Linked DNA regions of Homo sapiens: all the other regions are linked to region 1. Evidence: promoter capture Hi-C in human tissues and cell types (Jung and others, 2019). All regions are on one chromosome and are shown on one strand. The core of a region is centred on a gene start or on the middle of the fragment in contact, and the rest is flanking DNA. Distances in the headings are between cores, read along the strand shown.

Region 1 (4,039 bases), core at 554-3,053:
GAATCAATCCCCAGGATCTTAGGGGCACTGCCAAGCATGAATGCTGCAATCCCACATGTTCCCCGGTACCATCTGCAGCCCAAGAACTTCAACTGGACAGGAGAGCCGGCAGCCATCAACTCCTGTTCATTGTCAATGAAGAAGGCTGGGAGGTGCTATTTTTCCAGTGCCAGAATCAGGCTCACTAGCCGTAAGTATGCAAAACTAGCTTTGGTCATTTTGACATATGTAAATCCCACTAGCAAGCATAGAGCTTGGATGCCCCTAAAATATAATATGGCACTTCCACCAGTGTAAGAATGGGGAAGTTAGGGTACCCATTTATTTACTCCTTTTTTTTTGAGACAAGGTCACGCTCTGTCGCCAAGGCTGAAGTACAATGGCTTGATCTCACTTCACTGCAAACTCCACTCACGGGCTCAAGTAATTCTCCTGACTCAGCCTCCTGAGTAGCTGGGACTATAGGCACACACCACCATGCTCGGCTAACTTTTGTATATTTTGTTTTTGCCACGTAGCCCAGGCTGGTCTTGAACTCCTGATCCACCTGAATCAGTCTCCCAAAGTGCTAGGATTACAGGTGTAAGCCACCGCACCAGGCCTATTTAATCCTTTCTGTACACTAGACCCTGGTGATAGAAATGGCAGAAATACAGTCCCAGCACTCAAGAGGTAATAGGAACATGGACAAAAAGACATACCATACCAATTACAATACAGTGTGGGAAAGACAGTGGAGGGAAGCATGAGATGCCCTTCCTCTGTGTTGGTAATTGGGCCACAGTTGGGAAAGAGGTGAACAAATCTCTTCTGTGAATACCAACTCAGGGACATCCATGTTTCCACTGCAGAAGGACAAGCCAGCAGAAGGCTAGAAGCCATAAACCGAGTCCTGGCAGGATCAGTGCCACCCACTTTAACCCCAAAGCAGGGCTATTTTCTGCAACCGGAAAGAGTGGCATCTGACTCATGGACTGAATGCACCTTGCCCTCCATGGTAAACTCTGAACACAGAGCAGCCAAGGTTCCCCTCTGCCCTGCGTCTGCACCCATGCTGCAGCGTTCCAGAGCACTCCTCAACATCAATCAGTTCAGGTAAAAGCAGGAGGGAAGCACTCTACCTCTCCTGGATAACCTCCCCAGGTTTCCAAAGGGCATTAAATCTTTGCTAAATGAATGACTGCCACCAAGTTCCACTTTGAAAAGCCCTGCCCAGGAACCCCATTTGTATAAGGCAAAATACAAAGACACCAAGAATTCCTCAATACCCTAAGATTAATTGGGGATCGGTAAAGACTAGAAGATGAAGAGGCGCCAAGGCCAGCCATGTACTCATTTCTGCTCATCAAGCCTTAGCCTGGGTTTATCGCTAGGTGATGGGTCTGAACCCTAGGTGCGGCCCGGGGCTGGAGGCCATCCAGGAGACAATGAGCCCCTTTCCCAGAGAAGCCGAGTGCCCAAGGCACTGGGCTGTCGCCGTCAGAAGACTGCCGAGCGGAAGCCCTGCCCACCGAGGTGGCGGAGACAGGCAGGCCTGGGCAGCCGCTGGGGCGGAGGGACGGCTCTTGGAAACGGAATCCGTACTTTAATTAAAGTTTATGCAGTTTTCCAGGAGCGTCCTGTACCTCATTTCGGCCCTCACGTTTCAGGGAAGCCCTCTCCACAGTTACAGGCAGAAAGGGTGGGCCACTGAGCAGCGTGAGCCCAGATCTTACCCCCACCAAGTGAAGCGGGAAATAACTTGCTACTACCCAGCCTCCGGCCCGCCCCTTCCACTTCCGGTCTTACCCGGCTACTTCCGCTGCTGTTTCGTAGCCGACTGCTGAAGGCTGGTTTGCGTCGACATGGCGGTTACCCTGAGTCTCTTGCTGGGCGGGCGCGTTTGCGCCGCCGTCACTCGCTGTGGGTTCGCGACCCGGGGGGTGGCGGGCCCAGGCCCTATTGGCCGGGAGCCGGACCCCGATTCCGACTGGGAGCCGGAGGAACGGGAGCTGCAGGAGGTGGAGAGGTACCGGCTTCTCCCCGGGCCCTCAGCTTGAAGCAGGGCCTCGTGCCCCGGCGCTCCAGGCCGCGCCCCCTTGGCGCCGGGTGTCCTGCCGCTGCTTGCGCAGCGGCCCTTGTTTCTTCTTACCCGTTGTTAGGGGCGCAGCGTCAGGTGTTCAGCTCCCCTGGGACCACTGGTCCCTTCATTAGTGACGTATTTCATCATCAGTTTAGAGAGTTCGGCATGCTTACAGGCAGTTATTGTTCTAGGTGTTAGCTTTCTGGGTGTACGGAGCAGCTCTAAGCCGGCAACATGGCCCGGTTGCCCTTGCGATCAAAGAGAAGAGGGCTGGGCGCTCCATGATTTAGCCTGAGGCTCTTCAAACATCCATTCTGCTTCCACGCATGGCTTCTGCCATTGGTTCTCTTCCCCCAGCACCCTGAAACGACAGAAACAAGCAATCCGATTCCAGAAAATTCGGAGGCAAATGGAGGCGCCTGGTGCCCCGCCCAGGACCCTGACGTGGGAAGCCATGGAGCAGATACGGTGAGACTCAGGATACCTTGTTTGTATCCGCTGTGATGAGAAGTGAAGGATGCTGGAGCCCAGAAACGGGTTTGGCTTTTTTGATACTGCTTTTATATTTTCGTTTACTTTTTGTCGTTGAAATTTATTATCAGAAAAGTAGAGTAATATAACGAACTTCCCTAACCCTGTCATTATCTAGATTTAATAGTGTTTTGTTTTGTTTTTTAAAGAGACGGGGTTTCGCTATCGCCTCGAACTCCAGACCTCAAGTGATTCTCCCGCCTCGGCCTCTCAGAGTGCTGGGATTACAGGCATGAGCCACTGCGCCCCGCCTGGTTTTAATAGTTTTTAACGTTATGACGTGGTTGGTTCATTTTTACTGAAATTTTTAAATAGTAAATCGCAGACATCACAACATTTAACCCTTGAATGTAGGTTGTGACGTTCCCAACCTAAGGTACAGGGATGCTGGTGCTTCCATAGGTAGGTGCATTTTTCTGAAGACAGGATCTATAATTTAGGAAAGCTTAAAAGAGTTTTTAAGTTTTTTTGTTTTGAGTAGGTAAAGTATTACATATGGCTCAACCTAACAGTATAACATGGTATACACATTGAGAATTATTTGTCCCACCCACTCTCCTGTGGGTACTTTTTTTTTTTTTTTTTGGTAGTTGGGGGTCTCACTCTGTCGCCAAGGCTGGAGTACAATGATGTGATCACCGGTCACTGCAGCCTCTACCTCCTGGGCCCAAGCCATCCTCCCACTTCGTCCTCCCAAGTAGCTGGGACTACAGGTGCATGCCACCATGCTTGGTTAATTTTGTTTATTTTTTGTAGAGATAGCCTCATCATGTTGCCCATGCTAGTCTCCAATTCCCAGGGCTCAAGCGATCATCCCACCTCAGCCTCCTAAAGTGTTGGGATTACAGGCATGAGCCACTGTGTGCAGCTGTACTATTTTTAATAGTTTTTCTCTACCAAAAACTAGGCTCTGTGCCCTGAGTGAGCCACTGCGCCTGGCCCTCAATTCTTTTTTTATAGATGGTGTTATTATATTTTTTTGAGGCAGTATATGAGGCAGTATATGACAGTGGTTTTTAATTTTTATTTAAACAATTTTTTCTCCTATTTATTTATTTGACAGAGATGGGGGTCTCACTATGATGACCAGGCTGGTCTCAAACTTCTGGCCTCAACTGATCTTCCCATCTCGGCCTCCCAAAGTGCTGGGATTAGAGGCGTAAGCCACCATGCCTGGCCAGAATGCATTATTTAACCTGTCTTTTATTGTGGGCATTTAGTTGGGTTGTTTCCATTTCTGTTGCTCACTAATAGTGCCCCAGTGAATAACTACGTATGTGTATCATTCTGCATACCTGCCAGGAATATTTGTTATATACATTCCCAGAAGTAAGGTTGCCAGGTCAAAAGACAAATGCATTTGCAATTTGATAAATATTGCTAAGTAGCCCTACATAGATTATGTACTATTTTTCATTTCCATCAGAATGACTCTGGAATTGAAAT
Region 2 (4,353 bases), core at 541-3,040, 570 kb after region 1:
GTTAGCAAATGACTGGGAGCTGAGTGGGACAAGTTATGGGAAGGTGAGGGCGGAACTGCAAAGGAACAAAAGTTGGATTTGTTTGTTTGTTTGTTCGTTCTGAGACAGAGTTTCACTCTTGTTGCCCAGGCTGGAGTGCAATGGTGCGATCTCGGCTCACTGCAACCTCCGCCTCCCAGGTTCAAGCAATTCTCTTGCCTCAGCCTCCCGAGTAGCTGGAACTACAGGCACGTGCCACCATTCTCGGCTAATTTTTTGTATTTTCAGTAGAGATGGGGTTTCACCATGTTGGCCAGGCTTGTCTCAAACACTCTTTACCTCAGGTGATCCACTCGCCTCGGCCTCCCAAAGTGCTGGGATTACAGGCATGAGCCACTGCGCCCGGCCGAGACAACCACAATTCTTTTATTGTTGTTGTTTTTTGAGATCGGAGTCTCCCTATGTTGCCTGGTCTGGTCTCAAACTCCTGGGCTCAAGTGATCCTCCAGTCTCAACCTCCTAAATAGCTGGGATTATAGGTGCATGCTGCTGTACCTGGTTTTGCAATTCTTTTGGAAAGAAACTTTCTTAGTCAGATAAGGAATTCCAGGAAGAGTCCCTCCCTCCACTCGGGGGTAGGGAGGGTACAAGACAAGGTTAGGCAGCTTTGCAGTCCTCAGCATGTCAGAGCCCCAGTCTGGGGTATCACTTTCTGAGCCCCAACCTTCCTATCCCTCTTCATCTCTCCAAACTTCTCTGTGTAGGTGGCATTCCCCAAGGTTAACACGAATAACGGGCTATAGTAAGCATGTACTGAGCACCAGAAGTTTTAGGTGCAGCAGAGAACAGAGCCGATGAAACCCCTGCCTTCATGAAGATATCATTCTTTTTCTTTCTTTCTTTCTTTTTTTTTTTTTGAGACGGAGTCTCACTCTGTCGCCCAGGCTGGAGTGCAGTGGCACGATCTCGGCTCATTGCAACCTCCACCTCCTGGGTTCAAGCAATTCTCTGCCTCAGCCTCCCGAGTAGCTGGGATTACAGGCACCCGCCACCACGCCCAGCTAATTTTTGTATTTTTAGTAGAGACGGGGTTTCACCATCTTGGCCAGGCTGGGCTTGAACTCCTGACCTTATGATCCACCCTCCTCAGCCTCCCAAAGTGCTGGGATTACAGGTGCAAGCCAATGCACCCGGCCTGAAGATATCATTCTAATGGGAGGAGTTTGTTACTTCCTTCTTTGTACTTTTCTGAATTGCTTGTTTTGTTTGAGAGTTAGCATATATCTTTTTTTTTTTTTTTTTTTGAGACAGAGTCTCTCTCTGTCGCCCAGGCTGGAGTGTGGTGGCATGATCTCGGCTCACTGCAACCTCCACCTCCCAGGTTCAAGCAATTCTCCTGCCTCAGGTGCCTGAGTAGCTGGGATTACAGGTGCACGCCACCACGCCTAGACAATTTTTTTGTGTGTGTATTTTTAGTAGAGACAGGGTTTCATCATGTTGGCCAGGCTGGTTTCAAACTCCTGACCTCAAGTGATCCACCTGCCTCGGTCTCCCAAAGTGCTAGGATTACAGGCGTGAGCCACTGCACCCAGCCAGCATACATCTTTTTTTTTCTTTTCCTGAGATGGACTCTTACTCTGTCGCCCAGGCTGGAGTGCAGTGGTGTGATCTTGGCTCACTGTAACCTCCGCCTCCTGGGTTCAAGCAATTCTCCTGCCTCAGCCTCCCAAGTAGCTGAGATTATAGGCACGCGCCACCATGCCTGGCTGATTTTTGCATTTTTAGTAGAGACAGCATGCGCCACCGTGCCAGGCCATATATCATTTTTATAAAAACAAAGGCCGGGCGCGGTGGCTCCTGCCTGTAATCCCAGCACTTTGGGAGGCCTAGGCAGGTGGATCACCTGAAGTCAGGAGTTTGAGACCAGCCTGACCAACGTGAGGAAACCCTGTCTCTACTAAAAATACAAAAATTAACCAGGCGTGGTGGTGGGCGCCTGTAATCCCAACTACTTGGGAAGCTGAGGCAGGAGAATCACTTGAACCCAGGAGGTGTAGGAGGTTGCAGTGAGCCGACATCATGCCATGGCACTCCAGCCTGGGTGATGGAACAAGATTCCATCTCAAAAAAAAAAAAAAAAAAGAAAAAAGAAAACAATTTACCTTCACACACACATAAAACACATCCACGGAGGATGATTCTTCTGAACAGCTGGAGTTGGGAAGCACTACATTTGAAGCTGGATGAGTCATTGACACTCTTGTGTAAACAGGGTTTTCAGGAAGACAGCGTGGGGACCCAGAGTCTCTGGAGGTCCCAGCTAAAGATAAGATTCCCTGCGGAGCAGCTGACCCTGGGAAGAGCTGAAAAGGGAAGCTGGTTCCCCTGGGTTTTTAGGCTCTCTTGGAAGGAACAACCATCCAGGCTATCTCATGAGGCGCTCTTGCCAGAGATGCTTGTCCCAGTCCTGATCCTAAGCCCCTGCCTCGTTGGCATTGGTGAGCCCCGTAAGCCCCATCCACTTCCTCCCCCTCATCACCCACCTATCTCTTAAGCAGGGCCCTGACTCCTGCCCCGTCCACTGTGCCCTCACTCTGGCCACACAGGCCTGCCCACTGCCTATTTTTTTTTTTTTTTTGAGACAGAGTCTCACCCTGTCACCTAGGCTGGAGTGCAGTGGCACGATCTCTGCTCACTGCAACCTCTGCCTCCCAAGTTCAAGTGATTCTCCTGCCTCAGCCTTCCGAGTAACTGGGACTATAGGTGTGTGCCACCATGCCTGGCTAATTTTTGTATTTTAGTACAGACGGGGCTTCACCATGTTGGCCATGCTGGTCTCGAACTCCTGACCTCAAGTGATCTGCCGCCTCGGCCTCACAGAATGCTGAGTTACAGGCGTGAGCCACCACACCCAGCCGACCACTGCTTGGCTTTTGCAGGTGCTTTTACCTCCACCAGAATCTCCTCCTCGCCCCTAGGCTTCGAGGCCTCCTTTTCTGGAAGGCTTCCGTGACAGTCCAGACCACCTGGCTCTGCCTTGTTCCAGTGACTCAGAGGCTCAGAGCCGGCGAAGCCTTGGGGCCTTGCACCCGGGAGGCAGGAAGGCACACGGGCCCTGCCTACTGGGTGACCTTGGCCAAGTCCTTTGCCCTGGATGACTCTCTTTCCTCATCGGAAAGATAGGGGCATCATGAGCTGCTTGATAGGAATCAAGAAGATAACGTGTGAAATGTTAGCTATTTTTAGTTTCAGGTTTGTTGGAAAGAATGACAATGAGACGAGCTTACAGGAAGGGGGAATGAAAGGGGGAAATCAAGTCAGTAAGGGAAGAATGTGATAAAAAGCTTAAATGGAAATTTAAAAAACCTAACTTTTCTGGGAGGACGGAGGCTCCTTGTGGAGCCAGTTGAGGGTCTGTGGGGGTCATGGGGGCACCGTCAGACACTGTGGGAGATGCTGGACAGGGCTGGGTCCAGGCCTCCAGGCCCAGTGGGACCTCCCTTCTCAGCCCCCTTCTCTCTTTTTTTTTCCTTTGAGACGGAGTCTCACTCTGTCACCCAGGCTGGAGTGCAATGGCACAATCTCGGCTCACTACAACCTCCACCTCCCAGGTTCAAGCGCTTCTCCTGCCTCAGCCTCCCAAATAGCCAGGACTACAGGCATGTGCCACCACGCCCGGCTAATTTTTGTATTTTTAGTAGAGATGGGGTTTCACCATGTTGGTCAGGCTGGTCTTGAACTCCTGACCTCAGGTGATCTGCCCGCCTCGGCCTCCCAAAGTGCTGGGATTGCAGGCATGAGCCACCGCGCCCGGTTCAGCCCCCTTCTCTTTCAGCTCAGGCCCCCCTGCCCCTGCAGAGCCTTGGGAAGTGTCACCCCACACCAACTCCACCAGCTCCTACGAAAGCACCCCCAAATCATACCCTCTAGGCACCGCAGCAAAAGCAGCTTCAGGGCAATCCCCCAGCACAACCTCACCCCTTCCTGAGACTGGTGGGTGAGCTGAGGTCACCCGCCGCTGCCAGCAGGGCTGGGTAAATCTCGGAGCAGGCGGGGGCGAGGGCGGGGGCTGTCACCGCGGTGTTGCCTGACGCACCCTCCTCCCCAGCTCAGGAAATTGTGAGGTGAACTCTTCCCCTCCAGAGCGCTGTCTGCTGTGAAGGCGGCTCAGGCCCCCAACACACACATAGCAGGTGACAGGTAGGGCCCAAGCACTGGAGTCCCCGCTCCTCCCTGAAGACCTATCAGGGCATCTCTGGGACTGTGTTCCTGCTCTCCCTGCTCTGCACGCTCCCCCACCCTACAGTTCCCACGGGGCCAAACTTCGGTCAGAATCACCTTTATTGCACAGCCGCTCTGTACGCCAGGGGCTCA
Region 3 (4,111 bases), core at 356-2,855, 600 kb before region 1:
GAGGGAGGATGGCAGCAGATAGCTGGCTCAACTGCCCCTGCTGAAGGCCAGGGAGCCCCAGCAGCCCAAGCCCCTCGCCCCCAGGGTCCGGGCCAGGTGGTGAGCAGGGCTCAGCCCCAGCAGACTTTTCTGGAAACTTTTTATTGAGTTGGTAATCTACATACACTAAAGTGCACACATCTTTAGTGTAAGCTCTATGAATTTTTATAAGAACACACCTGTGTAACCACCACAGATCAAGACATAGACCATTTTCAACACCCAAAGACTCCCTGTGTCCCCACTCAGTCCACATTCCCCCAAGAGTGACCACAGTCCTGCTCTCTGTCACCATGCCTTAGTTTTGCCTATTTTCGAACTTCATGTAAGTGGAGTCACACCATGTGTATTCATCTATTAATAGCTCCTTTAGTTAAATATGATGGTGTAAGTTTCACCCATGTTGCTGCAAATGGAAGTAGTTCCTTCTTTTTCATTTCTGTGTAATATTCCATCATACGAATTTCCTGTAATTTACCCATTCTACCGTTGATGGACATTATCATCGCTTCCAGTTCTTAGCTAAGGATATTGCTGATCTGAGCATTTTTCACTTGTCTTGGGAGACTTAAGTGCTCATTTCTGTTGGGTATACACTTAAGAGTGGAACTGCTGGGCCATAGGATATATGTATGTTAGCTTTGGTAGATACTCCTCCCAGATCTTTTAAGAGTGAAAAATTCAATGAACCAGAGTGTCCCATGGGAAGAAATTGACTGAGCAAGGGGGCTGGTATCTCCTGAGGCACATTCTAAACCTCTAGGGAGCCCCACAAACAGAGACTCCTTATTACACAGCTTTTGGGGATGCCACTCTATTCCATGCGAATGGTGGCACGTGAGGTTCTGCCCACTGCAGGCGGGGTCCAGGCATGTGACTCAGTCTCAGCTGTTATTGATGCAGGGGACAGAGGGGAGCTACTACTCCTGTATTCCTGCAGGGGCAACACTTGCTTGAATGAATGATCCACGCCTGATGATGCTTTTAAAAGTACTGCTCAAAAGATGGCTGAAAAGTAGTCATCTTGTTTGCTGGCCTTTATGCTTTAGTATTGTTTTATTTTCTTTTCTGGCCTTAGTTTCTTACTAAAATTCCTTATGAAAAACATCCAGCCTATTTCTGCTAAGATACAGAGAGGTGGAGGTGGGGAGTGGTGGGGAGTGGTGGGGAGTTAACTCTCCCTGGGCCTAGAAAGGGCAACTTCACCTTGGGTGCATTGGTGCTGGGTACACTCTCCCTGACAAAATGGGTTGTATACTTTGTTTATTTAAGGATGACAGTCCCTAGTGCTTGCATAGCAGATGGAGGTCCTGCTGTCTTATAGGTGGGAAGACCCATAGAAAGAGGTCCACTTGGGGGTATGAAGGCTGGGGCTTGTGGGAGACTCAGAGGGAAATGGGGGAGATAGAAGTGAGTGGTGGGGAAGGAGCACTCTAGCAAGGCAGGCCTGCCCTTGCTTAACATCCTCTCCCTTCTCTTTCCCTGTGGTCTGGAAGGCCATCCCTCTACCCCTCTCAAGTCCTCTTAGAACTGAAGCCCCAGCCCACGTTGGAAGAGAGAATGTTCTCAGGACAGGAAGGGGTGATGGGTGGGGGATGGGAGGGACTAGGAGGCCCACAGGGCTCCCAGGCACCGGGTCAGTCAGAGCTCACGGCAGATACTTACCAGGGGCACCACGCCTGGGATCCACATGGCCACGGTGTGGCCCTGCTCCAGGGCCCGGGCCATGGTCTGCACGGTGTATCGAGAGAGGGTGTTGGTCAGAGCCCCAACCCTGCTCAAGAGGCTTGGCTTGGCCTTGGGAGACTTCTGGGCTTGCTGGTGTCCAGGAGCAGGGGCTGGGTAGGGATTTGGGGGGAAAGAAGAGAAAACAGGTCAGAGAGGGGCCGGAGAGATCTGGGTCATGTCTAGGACTGGAAAGTAGGTGTTCTAGGTCCACCACAAACTCACTGGTGAGTTCCACAACTCACTTTCCCTCTTTACAGATGGGGTGGGGGTGGGGGGGGTAAATGATTATGAATCCATCTGAAAATCCCACTGGCCTTCCCTATTCCAGAGCAGTGGCTGGTTGAGCCACCTCCTGCTGATTCCCAGGCAGTGTGTGTGACAACTCACTCCCAGGCCGAGCCTCCGAATGGCAGGTACCTGACTCTTCCTTGTCTGGAGGGAGGAGGTACTCCACCACCTTCTCAATGCTGCCCAAGGCCAAGTCGGCCCCTCCAGAAGCCAGTCGGCCAGCTCGAGTGTTGGCAGCAAATTCCGCAGTGTCTCTGGCCACCCCCCAGGCAAGCTCGCACCCGGCCAAAGCGGCCCCCAGGACCTTGTCTGAAGTGCTCGCGATGGGAACGCTGATGCTGTTTCTGGCACTGCGGAGGCGGGTGGAGATGGTGTCCTTCAGCTCAGAAGCAATCTGGGGGAAGTTGGTGGGGGTGTTAGGCATGTGGTCTTGCAGGCCCTACAAGGGCTGCCCTTCCGGGGTCTGGTGGCCTGAGCCCAGCTCCCAGGAAGGCATCACCTAAAGGCCCAGGGAACTGGTACTGATATTTAGGTACCTGGAATTAAGCTGGGCTTTAGAGGAGAGGGCTCCAACCTTCCCTGTGCCAACTGTTTGGATCTCCTGGCTTCTTCACCCCGCATCACAGCCTGTCAAGATCCCTCCCATCCTGTGAGGATGACCCCAAAGGCTCGTCCTTGGTGCCACCTGTCCTGATACCCTTGGGCTCACAAGGAATCTCCTCCATCCTTTCCTCAGAACACAGCATTTCTGTTGATTTATAGGTGTGCTTGATCTTCCTACAAGTTCTGCACTGAAATAATTTGTCTTTTTCTTCATTATTCTGGGAGCTCTTTTGTGACAAAAATGTTGCCTTTTATCTGGAAAAATGGGGAGCAAAGAGCACAGGTCTCACAGCTGAATAGACCTGCTCTCATTGTCCCCACTTAAGGCTGTGTGGCCGTGGGGGAGACACTGGTTTCCTCTCTGTAAAATGGAGATAACAACCCCTATCCCAGAGGGTTGACAAGTGGATTAAAGAAGAGCGCTTGATAAAGCATAGGTGATGGCCCCGGGCATAGGGTAGGGCTCAGTACCTGTTTGTGGGAAGGGTAGATAGTTGGTCAGTGAGATAGATGAGGTCAGAGACTGAAGCTTATTCCCCAGAAGCACCAAAAATGAGTCCTTATCATAGCAACTACCCAATAAATATGTAGCCAGGTAAAGTGACCTTCAATCTCATGGTCCATAAAAGGTTGGATCTTGAGGATATGGGATGACACTCCTGGGATCTGAATGAGTGTGACTCATGATCTTAGGCAGCTGTAGTTGCCAAGTGGTCCAGGGCAGACTATGGAACCTCAGATCCCAGGGTGCGGTATCGGGAGGCAGTGGGACCCGCCTCAAGCTCCTGTTTGGGTTTGCCTCTGGGCTCGTGCCTGCTGGTCCCAGAAACCCCACCTCCGTTTAGCTTCACAGGGAGAAGAGGAGCCTGTTGTGTGGCCTTGGGAGCAGGCACTCTCCGCCAGCCTTGGAGGGTGCTCACCATGGGACACAGACTTCCAGTCACGGCATCAGCAGCCCCTGCCCTCTCCTCCCTGAGAGGCGGTGACGACAGAGTGCAGGGAGGCTTCGAGAGGTGGGAAGGGCTCACCTTTTCAGGGGGGTACTGGAGGGCGGGGATCTTTTCCTCCAGGTGGTCCAAGCCTCGGCAGGCCAGCTCATTGGCAGCTGTGACTGGAAGGAAAGGGCCAAGTTTGGGTGAGCCCTGCCCCTCCCCATGAGAATCTAGCAGTGGCTTCTGTGCCAAGGAAGTGACTTGGAGCCCTCAAATCCCAAGGCCTGCTGCCTCCCCAGCATCTCTGGGCCCCAGGCCCTTTGCCCTCTTTCGCCCTTGTCTGCAGGGACTCCTCAAGACCCGGGCCAGTTTCTTCTGTCTGTGTGGGAACTCTGGAGTCGCTCAGACCTGCACTCAAAAGGCCAAGTGACCACATCTAAGAAGCCTGTGGCCTCAGCTAGTCACAGCCTGTCTGAGCCTCTGCTTCCTACCTTGTAAAAGGTGAATTAATGGTGCCTGCC

What was found. The method cuts DNA at HindIII sites, captures the fragments that hold promoters and counts their contacts. A contact is called where the count stands out against the background at its distance.
Region 2: a contact is called between a fragment that was not itself captured here and the fragment with the promoter of NGRN in region 1, in 1 of the 25 tissues and cell types used here (lymphoblastoid cells).
Region 3: a contact is called between a fragment that was not itself captured here and the fragment with the promoter of NGRN in region 1, in 1 of the 25 tissues and cell types used here (thymus).

Annotation. Positions count from the first base shown.
Region 1 is chr15:90,263,869-90,267,907 of GRCh38, forward strand. NGRN (neugrin, neurite outgrowth associated) reads left to right here and starts at 1,804. Exons shown (of 3, transcript NM_001033088.3): 1 at 1,804-2,008; 2 at 2,420-2,530. The coding sequence starts at 1,845. It overlaps TTLL13 (tubulin tyrosine ligase like 13), which reads left to right. Exons shown (of 15, transcript NM_001396017.1): 14 at 79-190; 15 at 852-1,609. The coding sequence ends at 1,099. It also overlaps a transcript of CIB1 not described here. RefSeq lists enhancers at 816-1,787, 1,275-1,404, 1,765-1,994, 1,788-2,758. The HindIII fragment of the contact is 14,519 bases long and covers 1-4,039 here.
Region 2 is chr15:90,834,243-90,838,595 of GRCh38, forward strand. No RefSeq gene overlaps it. Among named protein-coding and RNA genes, the nearest start is that of FURIN, 32 kb to the right of the region's middle. The HindIII fragment of the contact is 6,342 bases long and covers 1-4,353 here.
Region 3 is chr15:89,667,796-89,671,906 of GRCh38, forward strand. It overlaps PLIN1 (perilipin 1), which reads right to left. Exons shown (of 9, transcript NM_002666.5): 4 at 3,687-3,769; 5 at 2,185-2,449; 6 at 1,705-1,877. Among named protein-coding and RNA genes, the nearest start is that of PLIN1, 9.5 kb to the right of the region's middle. The HindIII fragment of the contact is 6,131 bases long and covers 1-4,111 here.